Regions from separate parts of the Homo sapiens genome. Here regions 1 and 2 are each linked to region 3. Evidence: promoter capture Hi-C in human tissues and cell types (Jung and others, 2019). All regions are on one chromosome and are shown on one strand. The core of a region is centred on a gene start or on the middle of the fragment in contact, and the rest is flanking DNA. Distances in the headings are between cores, read along the strand shown.

What was found. The method cuts DNA at HindIII sites, captures the fragments that hold promoters and counts their contacts. A contact is called where the count stands out against the background at its distance.
Region 1: a fragment that was not itself captured here is called in contact with the fragment with the promoter of ACOT4 in region 3 in 2 of the 25 tissues and cell types used here (dorsolateral prefrontal cortex and spleen).
Region 2: a fragment that was not itself captured here is called in contact with the fragment with the promoter of ACOT4 in region 3 in 1 of the 25 tissues and cell types used here (aorta).

Annotation. Positions count from the first base shown.
Region 1 is chr14:73,940,692-73,943,713 of GRCh38, forward strand. FAM161B (FAM161 centrosomal protein B) reads right to left here. Exons shown (of 9, transcript NM_152445.3): 4 at 1,678-2,024; 5 at 235-362. Among named protein-coding and RNA genes, the nearest start is that of FAM161B, 7.9 kb to the right of the region's middle. The HindIII fragment of the contact is 9,683 bases long and covers 1-3,022 here.
Region 2 is chr14:73,281,101-73,284,328 of GRCh38, forward strand. NUMB (NUMB endocytic adaptor protein) reads right to left here. Exons shown (of 13, transcript NM_001005743.2): 10 at 2,981-3,228; 11 at 1,259-1,405. Among named protein-coding and RNA genes, the nearest start is that of PAPLN-AS1, 37 kb to the left of the region's middle. The HindIII fragment of the contact is 6,061 bases long and covers 1-3,228 here.
Region 3 is chr14:73,590,594-73,593,691 of GRCh38, forward strand. It overlaps ACOT4 (acyl-CoA thioesterase 4), which reads left to right and starts at 1,280. Exons shown (of 3, transcript NM_152331.4): 1 at 1,280-1,823. The coding sequence starts at 1,367. It also overlaps a transcript of HEATR4 not described here. RefSeq lists an enhancer at 1,514-2,013 and a silencer at 1,825-1,894. The HindIII fragment of the contact is 17,984 bases long and covers 1-3,098 here.

The DNA of each region.
Region 1 (3,022 bases), core at 462-2,961, 350 kb after region 3:
CTTAACACTGTGCCTGGCACAGAATAAGCCCACTATGAATATGTGCTGAATGATGGCTAGCTGTTCTCCAAGCACCAGGTGTGGAGAACCGCAATTGTTCCAGTCCTGATCAGAAAATTCCCTTTGACCCCTTGAGGTATCTCTGATAACAGGAAAGGAGGCCCCTTGGCAGGGAGGTTTCCAGCATTTGGGGCCAGAATCAGAGCATGGGTCTCGTGCAGCCTGACCACTCACCTGACTGCAGATTCCCTCTTCCTGGTGGCATCTGTGATGTGCACAGGGAGAGTGTTGGCAGAGAGGGAAGCAAGGCCGCTCAGAGAACGACTCCTTGGCAGGGGTGTAGCTGGTGGCTGTGGGGAATCCTAGAAGAAACAAAGGTTGGTATTGGTGGGACAGCATGTGTGATTAGTTTCTATCTTTTTTTTTTTTTTTTTTTTTTGAGACAGAGTCTCGTCTCGCTCTTTTGCCCAGGCTGGAGTGCAGTGGCGCAATCTCGGCTCACTGCAACCTCCAGCTGCCTGGTTCAAGCAATTCTCCTGCCTCAGCCTCCCACGTAGCTGGGACTATACAGGTTGTGAGCCACCATGCCCAGCTACATTTTTGCAGTTTTAGTACAGACGGGGTTTCACCATGTTGGTCAGGCTGGTCTCGAATTCCTGATCTCAGGTGATCCACCCGTGTCGGCCTCCCAAAGTGCTGGGATTACAGGTGTGAACTACCGCGCCCAGCCATTTTCTATCTTTACTAGGATTCAGCTTCACTGAAGGACTGAAAATGAGAATCTTCATTTTTTTTCCTGGGAATAAGGCAAGGATAAAGAGATCTCAAGTTTCACAACCAAGCCAAGACTTGGATATCAATCCTAAAGTTTTTAGTCAAATGAGAAGAGTTCCTTGGAATTGGTATAGAGACATCAACAACTGATCCCAACTCCTTGCCTCTCAAGCCTGCTTGGACTTATTTCTGTGAAATCCTTCTACAGTAAGGGAGGAAAAGAAGTGTCCCTATGGTTTCTGTTGTGTTCTGTTTTTGAGATGAACTTTCACTCTTGTTGTCCAGGCTGGCCTGCGGTGGCACAATCTCAGCTCACTGCAATCTCCGCCTCCCAGGTTCAAGCAATTCTCCTACCTCAGCCTCTGAAGTAGCTGGGATTACAGGTGCCCGCCACCGCACCCAGCTAATTTTTGTATTTTTAGTAGAGATGGGGTTTTGCCATGTTGGCCGTGCTGGTCTCGAACTCCTGACCTCAGATGATCTGCCCTCCTCGGCCTCTCAAAGTGCTGGGATTAAAGGCGTGAGCCACCACGCCTGGCCTGTTTTTTGTTGTTGTTTTTAGATGGGGTCTCACTCTGTTGCCTAGGCTGGAGTACAGTGGCATCATCTTGGCTCACTGCAGCCAGAAGGTCCTCCCACCTCAGCCTCCTGAATGGCTGGAACTACAGGTACACACCACCACATGTGGCAAATATTTGTATTTTTCTTTTAGAGATGGGGTCTCTGTTGCCCAGGCTGGGCTGTGGTCTGGAGTTTATAGGAAAGTGAATCTGCTTACAACTGAGCTGGTGTTTAAAAAAAAGATAGGAAAACCTTGTTGAGAAGTGCTTTCCAGGAAGACCTGGCCCCACCCTGTATTTCAGGCCGCAGCCCTGACCCTCCCACAGCTGCCTGGGCTCTCACCTGCCTCCTTCCGGTGGTGGCAGCATCACAGGGCCGCTGAGGGTGGCGCAGGTTGGCGGTCCTCAGCAAGAAGGGCTTGTTGCGAGTGGCCTCTTGGGTTTCTCTTCTTTTGGCTGCTCTTCTCTGGAAGGCCTTGTAAAGGCCCTCATAGTCAGGGACCACAGGATTCACCCGAGGCTGGAATCTGAAGTTAGTGTGCAGAAACCCAAGCTTTTCCTGCTGGGTTCGGGTGGCTGTGCGGGGCTGTGGGTTAGCCCGGTTACTAGAGGAGGCGATAGGGGAAGAGGCCATCTGGAGCATGTCCAGGGCTCTCATTTGGATGCGAATTTTCCTGAAGAGCTCAGCTTCTGTGGAGAAAGGATGGTGATGGGTAAGAAAGGACCAAGCAAGAAACCTACAGGGTTGGAGAACTTTCCCTCTTTTACACACTAGCTGTAAGTGTTACTGGAGGCAAGTAGGAACTTTTCAGGAATTCTGACACGTTAACATCCTGTGAGATGCCTGCAGATGGCCTGAATAGGAGTAATTATGCCACAGAAAATAACAAACATTACAAACCAGCTTCCTTTTTTTTTTTTCTGGAGAGCTTGTTAATAAATGTCATCCAGAACACCACTGCCTGTGTCAATCAGGCTGCAGAAGCAGTGACCATCTACACTTACTGAGCACTTTCTATGATTGCTTCTTCAGAGATGAAGCAGAGGAAGTGGGCCAGTAACCTGCTCCTCTCCCAGGTTTCCCCATCTGAGAGAAAGGCCCTACCATCCACCCAGCTGCCCAGGCCCTTTGCCCACATCACTGACTCCTCCGTGTCTCTCATCAGTCACAAGTTCTGTCATTTCCTCCTCTTTAACCTCTCTCCAGTCCATCCTCGTTTTTTCATCCCTGCAACCAGTTGCACAATTTCTCTACTGAATTGTGAAATAGCTTCCTCTTGGCTCAACATCCCTCCAGTCTTGCTGCCCTCTCAGATTATCTATACAGCAATCAGAAGGATCCTTCTGAACTATATTTCTGATCATGGGCCACCCTGCCTCACTCCCTCAGTGGCTTCCCTGTGCCCTTGGGATGAAGTCCAGACTCGCCAACGTGGCTTGCAAAGCTCCTCATGTCTGGCCCATGCCTGCCTCTTCCTTCCCACTCCCTCTTCTCTCAGCCCTCGACCTTTCCATCCCTTGCAGATGCTCTGCTTTCTCTCCCCTCCATGCCACATTCTGCCTGCTCCACTTCTCCTCCCTCTTCGCCCCTCCTTCAGTTCAGCCCCAGGGCCCACTTTCTCAGGGGACCTTCCCTAACTGCTCCCTTGCTTCACCAATCCCCGGGTTAGGTCCCTTTGATATATGCT
Region 2 (3,228 bases), core at 677-3,176, 310 kb before region 3:
AGGAAACTGAAATATTCAATTTTGCACACTTAGTGCCTTGTAGGCTGGCAGAATCAGCAGAATGTAACGGGTACTATATTCAGGAGGACCTGAGTTTAAATCCTGTCTGTAAGATTTGGGCAATTTACTTATCCTCTCTGAGCCTCTTTTTTTTTTTTCATCTGTAACACCTACCTCACAGGCTTGTTGTGGGGATTAAATGAAATAATGCATGAATACCTACCACAATGTGGCAAGCAATGTGTAAGTGCTCAATAAATGGTGCCTATTATTACCGGTATTATAAATGTTTGTTAGATGACATGAAAAGTCATTTGGTACACATGACTATGAAGGTTTATTAAAAAGAAAAAGAAAAAGACCCTTGGAGAAAAAGTGTGTAGTTCTTCCAGTAGAAGCAGGGCACTATCTCTGGAGTAAAACTTCCGCTGAGCTCTCTTTCAAAAGAAATGGAGAAACAGCAATTATAGCAGCTCAAATTCTACAAGTCTGTAACTTAAGTTACATAAATTCTTTGCTGACCTCTGAGTCAATATCCACTATTTAGTCAGTATCTCTGAAAACAACTTTTAACTCTTCAATGCCACAAAGGCAAATTTTAAGACACTTGTTATAGAAGATGAACTAAAGAGCTCAAAGGAGTGCCTTTTTCTTTATTAGCCTCTTTGACAGGGCAGAGACTAGGTGAGTCCAGGGCTTCTCAACATTGGCACCACTGACATTTTGGGCTGGATAATCCTTTGTTGTGGGTGCTGTCGTCTACACTGAAGGATGTTTAGTGGCATTCTTGGCATCTAACCACAAGCCAGTAACACCCCCAACCCCCAACTTGTAAAGCCCCAAAATGTCTCCAGACAGTGAAAGACAAACTTTGCCCCAGTTGAGAACCACTACACTAAAGAAAGCATAACCTTTGAACCAATTCTGATGACTACTGCTTTTGGGAAACTGGATGGGTATGCTGATCCTTAACAGTCAAGTGGGAAATAAGGCAGTAGGTTGGGACTACAGAAATTCCTTATAGAATGGGGTGAAAGATGGGCACATGCAGAATGACAAACACAGACATCTTAGAAAACAGGAAGGGCACAAAGACATCGTCGAATGGAGAAATCAATGAATCTAAGACATCAAATAGAGAAATTAATGGGTCTGACCAGGCCTTGGGAAGCTCAGGATGCCAACTTACAGTTAGTGAGCAGTGTACTAAAAGTACTGGTTGTAAAGAGAACAGCTGAGCAGGTCAGAGGGCACCAACCTTGGAAGGTAGGAGATTGTGGTGCCACCACTGTCACTGGTTTGGTCATCGGAGCAGATGAGAAGGGGTCCTCAGGTGTGCTGAAGGCATTGGTGATCTGTGAGCACAGGGAGCTGATGCTCTCTGCCTCCCCTTCTACTTCTGGCACTGCAAGGCAAACAGAAAATGGCTCCAGACAGAAAAATGGAATAATCCTGAAATTTGACAGTATGATGCAAGCTGGCACTTTATACTGTATCTCCTGCTTATGTAAGAAAAGGCTCAATTAACTGTATGGCAGGGCTACAAAACCAGTTTCAAAAAATTTACTGGCCACAATTTCATTGGCTTTTCAGATGGGAAAGTATAAAATGTCAACAATTAATGTACTAAGGCACATCTTCCTCCCTTACAAATCCCCAAATTTCTTCATTTCTTCTTCTTATAACACTGTTGAGGATCTGTCCTTTTTGTGCCAAGATGTTCAGCTAGCCAGATCTTTGTAGAAGACATTTGCAACCTGTATGCCTTCCAACGTGTTCTCAAGACTGTGATCTGAATTAGGTTCTGGAGCCTTTAGTAATTCTGTCAGGAAAATGGGTTCAAGTCTGGGCACTAGTGGATGCTTAGTGCTTTTCTCTGTAACAAACTATGACAATGTCATCAATCTCATTTTTCTCCAAAGTCTCCAGTACTAAGCATATGATCTATGATAACATGAAAAAGTGAGCAGAGGTGTAGGACGCTAGGGCCTTTATTCTTAATACTGACTCTAGGATACTTCTGTATCACTGAGGAAGCTAATTATGTGTGCTAAAGCTCTGTTTGCTCATCTGTAAAGAGAATAATAGTTTTTATTCCCTGTCTGCCCTAGAAGGAGACTGAACTGAAATGAGGTACCTCAGCTGAGAACTGAAAAGACCCTCCGTAATCATCTAGTCCAACTATTCTTTAGGCCTAGTTTCATCTGTCAGATGAACTTAACTCTCTGTACTTTTATACCATCAGTAGGAATGGCCTATTGAGACAGTTTCCTCATATTTTGTTATAGCAATGGCTTGACATGTCTCAGAGGGAAGTAAAATAGAGCCCAACAAAAGCACTGACCAGATCTAATACTTTAGCTACAGATTTTATGACGAGGATAGACCTATAGAGGCTGGCATAGCTGTACAGAGGCCACACAAAGGCCTGTGAGACGGTTCTGAAAGGTAATGAATACTTGTGAACAAGTCCACTGTCTGTGATGAACAACAGATCTTAGATGTACACGAAAGACCTGTCTAGAGTTTCCTCCTTATGGAGCCAACCAGCCAGAAGGACAATGAGCACATATCCATTTCTTCTGCTGGTAATGCTATGTGTTTCTAAGGCCTCTTTAATTAATTCCCTGCTGGGTCCCAATGGCAGAATAAGAATAGAAACTTGAGACCCTTGATGTTTGGGAGCAGGTTGGCTGAAAGGCAGTGAATGCACTTACATCAGGACAAACCACAAATCTTATGGCTTAGGCTAGAAATTCCACAATGGCTCTGCTGCCTGTTTGTTGAAGAGAAATTATGGATTCACATCCCCCTCCACGGACCTTAGTTTTCCCACTATGGGAAATGACAAAAGATACAACTATCAACGAACCTCAGGGAAAGAGGAATGCCTAGTTTAATGGGATTAGTGTCTTCATGGGAAGTGATGAGAATGCTTCAGTGCTCGAGTACCCAGTGAGTCAGGTAGATGCTACATTACCTGCATTTTTAATGGGGAAATCAGTCTTCCTCTGCATAGTGGAAGGCAACTCATTGATGCGTAGGGATAGTTGGCGTTTAAAGGGTGACATCTTCTGGCTAAGAGCAGGAAAACCTCGGAAAGAGCCTTGGCGAGCAAGCTGTTCAATTGGAGCATGCCGGCGTGGGATGGCATGAGGATTGTTCATCTCCAGAGAGGTCGTGGCATCAGAAGTAGGAGAGGTGGGAGAGGATGGGGATGGGGCAGTG
Region 3 (3,098 bases), core at 30-2,529:
TGGCGGGCTGCAGGTCCCGAGCCCTGCGCCGCGGGGAGGCAGCTAAGGCCCGCTGAGAAATCGAGCACAGCAGCTGCTGCCCCAGGTGCTAAGCCCCTCACTGCCCGGGGCTTGCGGGCCGGCCGGCCGCTCCAAGTGCGGGGCCGCCGAGCCCACGCCCACCCGGGACTCGCGCTGGCCCGCAAGCCCCGCGGGCAGCCCCGGTTCCCGCCCGCGCCTCTCCCTCCACACCTCCCAGTAAGCTGAGGGAGCCGACTCCGGCCTTGGCCAGCCCAGAAAGGGGCTCCCACAGTGCAGCGGCGGGCTGAAGGGCTCCTCAAGCGCGGCCAGAGTGGGCGCCAAGGCCGAGGAGGCGCCGACAGCGAGCGAGGGCAGCCAGCATGCTGTCACGTATCACTAGCACTTTGGGACTACAGAGGCAGGAGGATAGTTTGTGCTCAGGAGTTCGAGACCAGCCTGGGAAACAGGGTGACACCTCCTCTCTAAAAATAAACATTTAAAAATTAACGTGGCATGGTGGTGCGCTGTCTGTAGTCACAGCTACTCCGAAGGCTGAGACAGGAGGATCACTTGAGCCTGGGAGGTGGAGGCTGCAGTGACCTGTGATCGAGCCACCGCCTTGCAGCCTGGATGACAGAGAGAGACCCTGTCTCAAATACAACAAAAAAGCAGGCCGGGCGCAGCGGCTCACGCCTGTAATCCCTAGCACTTTGGGAGGCCAAGGCGGGAAGATCACTTGAAGTCAGGAGTTCAAGACCAGCCTGGCCAACATGGTGTAACTCCCTCTTTACTAAAAATACAAAAATTAGCGGCATGGTGGCGCGCGCCTGTAATCCCAGGTACTCGGGAGGCTGAGGCAGGAGAATCGCTTGAACCCAGGAGGCGGAGATTGCAGTGAGCCGAAGCGCCACTGCACTCCAGCCTGGGCGACAGAGGAGACTCTGTTTCAAAAAAAAAAAAAGTTAAAAACAAAACCTTCCATGGAGCCCATGAAAGGCTGGAATTTGGCTTGATCTCATTGGCTTTTGGTTTCACCACAAATTGATCATCCAACAACTTTCATTCCAACAACCGAGGGTGGTGTGAGGCAGAGAGGCTTTCTACGGGGTGGGTTGGGCGCCACACCTTGCGCGCCCCGGGGCCCAAGGAGACGACCCTGAAGAGGAGCCTGGCTACTTTTGCCTCAGACGAGTCCGGAGCGCCGGGTTAACCGGTCTGAAGTCCCAGGGGCTTTCTGGGACTGCTCAGCCACCGGCAGCTTCCGGCACCAGGGGACGCCGGACGCCGTCCGGACATTCGGCGCGCTTGCCACGATCTTGGACGGGTCTCGGGCCTCGACCTTTGAATTCCCCGCTCCGGCTCCAAGATGTCAGCAACGCTGATCCTGGAGCCCCCAGGCCGCTGCTGCTGGAACGAGCCGGTGCGCATTGCCGTGCGCGGCCTGGCCCCGGAGCAGCGGGTTACGCTGCGCGCGTCCCTGCGCGACGAGAAGGGCGCGCTCTTCCGGGCCCACGCGCGCTACTGCGCCGACGCCCGCGGCGAGCTGGACCTGGAGCGCGCACCCGCGCTGGGCGGCAGCTTCGCGGGACTCGAGCCCATGGGGCTGCTCTGGGCCCTGGAACCCGAGAAGCCTTTTTGGCGCTTCCTGAAGCGGGACGTACAGATTCCTTTTGTCGTGGAGTTGGAGGTGCTGGACGGCCACGACCCCGAGCCTGGACGGCTGCTGTGCCAGGCGCAGCACGAGCGCCACTTCCTCCCGCCAGGGGTGCGGCGCCAGTCGGTGCGAGCGGGCCGGGTGCGCGCCACGCTCTTCCTGCCGCCAGGTGAGCCAGGCTGCTGGCGGGTGGTGTGAGCGTCAGTGGCCTGAGTCTCCGTTTGTTTCCAGTGCTGATTTAGCACTGGTTTGGTTTTGGAGCAAGATCAGAGAAGCTAACATTGACTATGTCAGTGGCCACTCTACCAAAATAGAGGGTTTGGTACCGGGCGTGGTGACTAACGCCTGTAATCCCAGCACTTTGGGAGGCCGAGATGGGCGGATCACTTGAGATCAGGAGTTTGAGACCAGACTGGCCAGCATGGTGAAACGCTGACTCTACCGAAAATACAAAAATTAGTCCAGCCTGGTGGCACACGCCTGTAGTCCCAGCCACTCGGGAGGCTGAGGCACGAGAATCGCTTGAACCTGGGAGATGGAGGTTGCAGTGAGCCGAGATCGCACCACTGCACTCCAGCCTGGGTGACAGAGCGAGACTCCGTCTCAAAAAAAGAAAAAAGAAAAAAAAGGATTTTTTGTTAGGCTGTGTACTACGGTTTTTACTTGCATTCTATCAGTTAGTCTCTATAATATCCCAATGAAGTTGGTATTGTTATTCTGCAGATGAAAAAACAGGTTCAGGTCGTCAGGTACATTATCCACTTTGCTATTAATCACTACCCTACAGATTTCTACAGGCATCAGCCTGACTTGTCTAAGGCAGAATGATGACAGTGAATGAAGCTATTACCATGTCGTCTTCTCTAGTGTTCTAGGCACACTGTCTCTTCTCCACTTCTTCATGTGCTGCTTTATCACAGGTCACACTTCAGACTCCACTGCCTTTCTCACCTAAAACCATCTCTGGGTATTTCTTTTTCTTTCCTCCCTTTCTACATAGACATCTGAAATATCAGTACACTAAAAACCAGAGGGCTGATGCAACAGAACATAAAGTTTTGTTTCAATCTTTTTTCTTTTCTTTCTTTCTTTTTTTTTTTTTTTTTTTTGAGACAGTGTCTGTCTCTGTTGCCCACGCTGGAGTGCAGTGGTGTGGTCACACCTCACTGCAGCCTTGACCTCTGGGGCTCAAGTGATCCTCCCTCCATTGCCTCCCAAGTAGCTAGGACTACAGGCATACACCACCACACTGACTAATTAAAAAAAAAAAAAGATTGTAGAGATGGGGTCTCACTACATTGTCCAGGCTGGTCTTGAACTCCTGGCCTCAAGCAATCCTCCTGCCTTGGCCTCCTAAAGTGCTGAGATTACAAGCATGAACCACAGTGTCCAGCCAGGAAAGCAAATTCTTTAAATTGTATAATGGCTTACATTTATAATATTT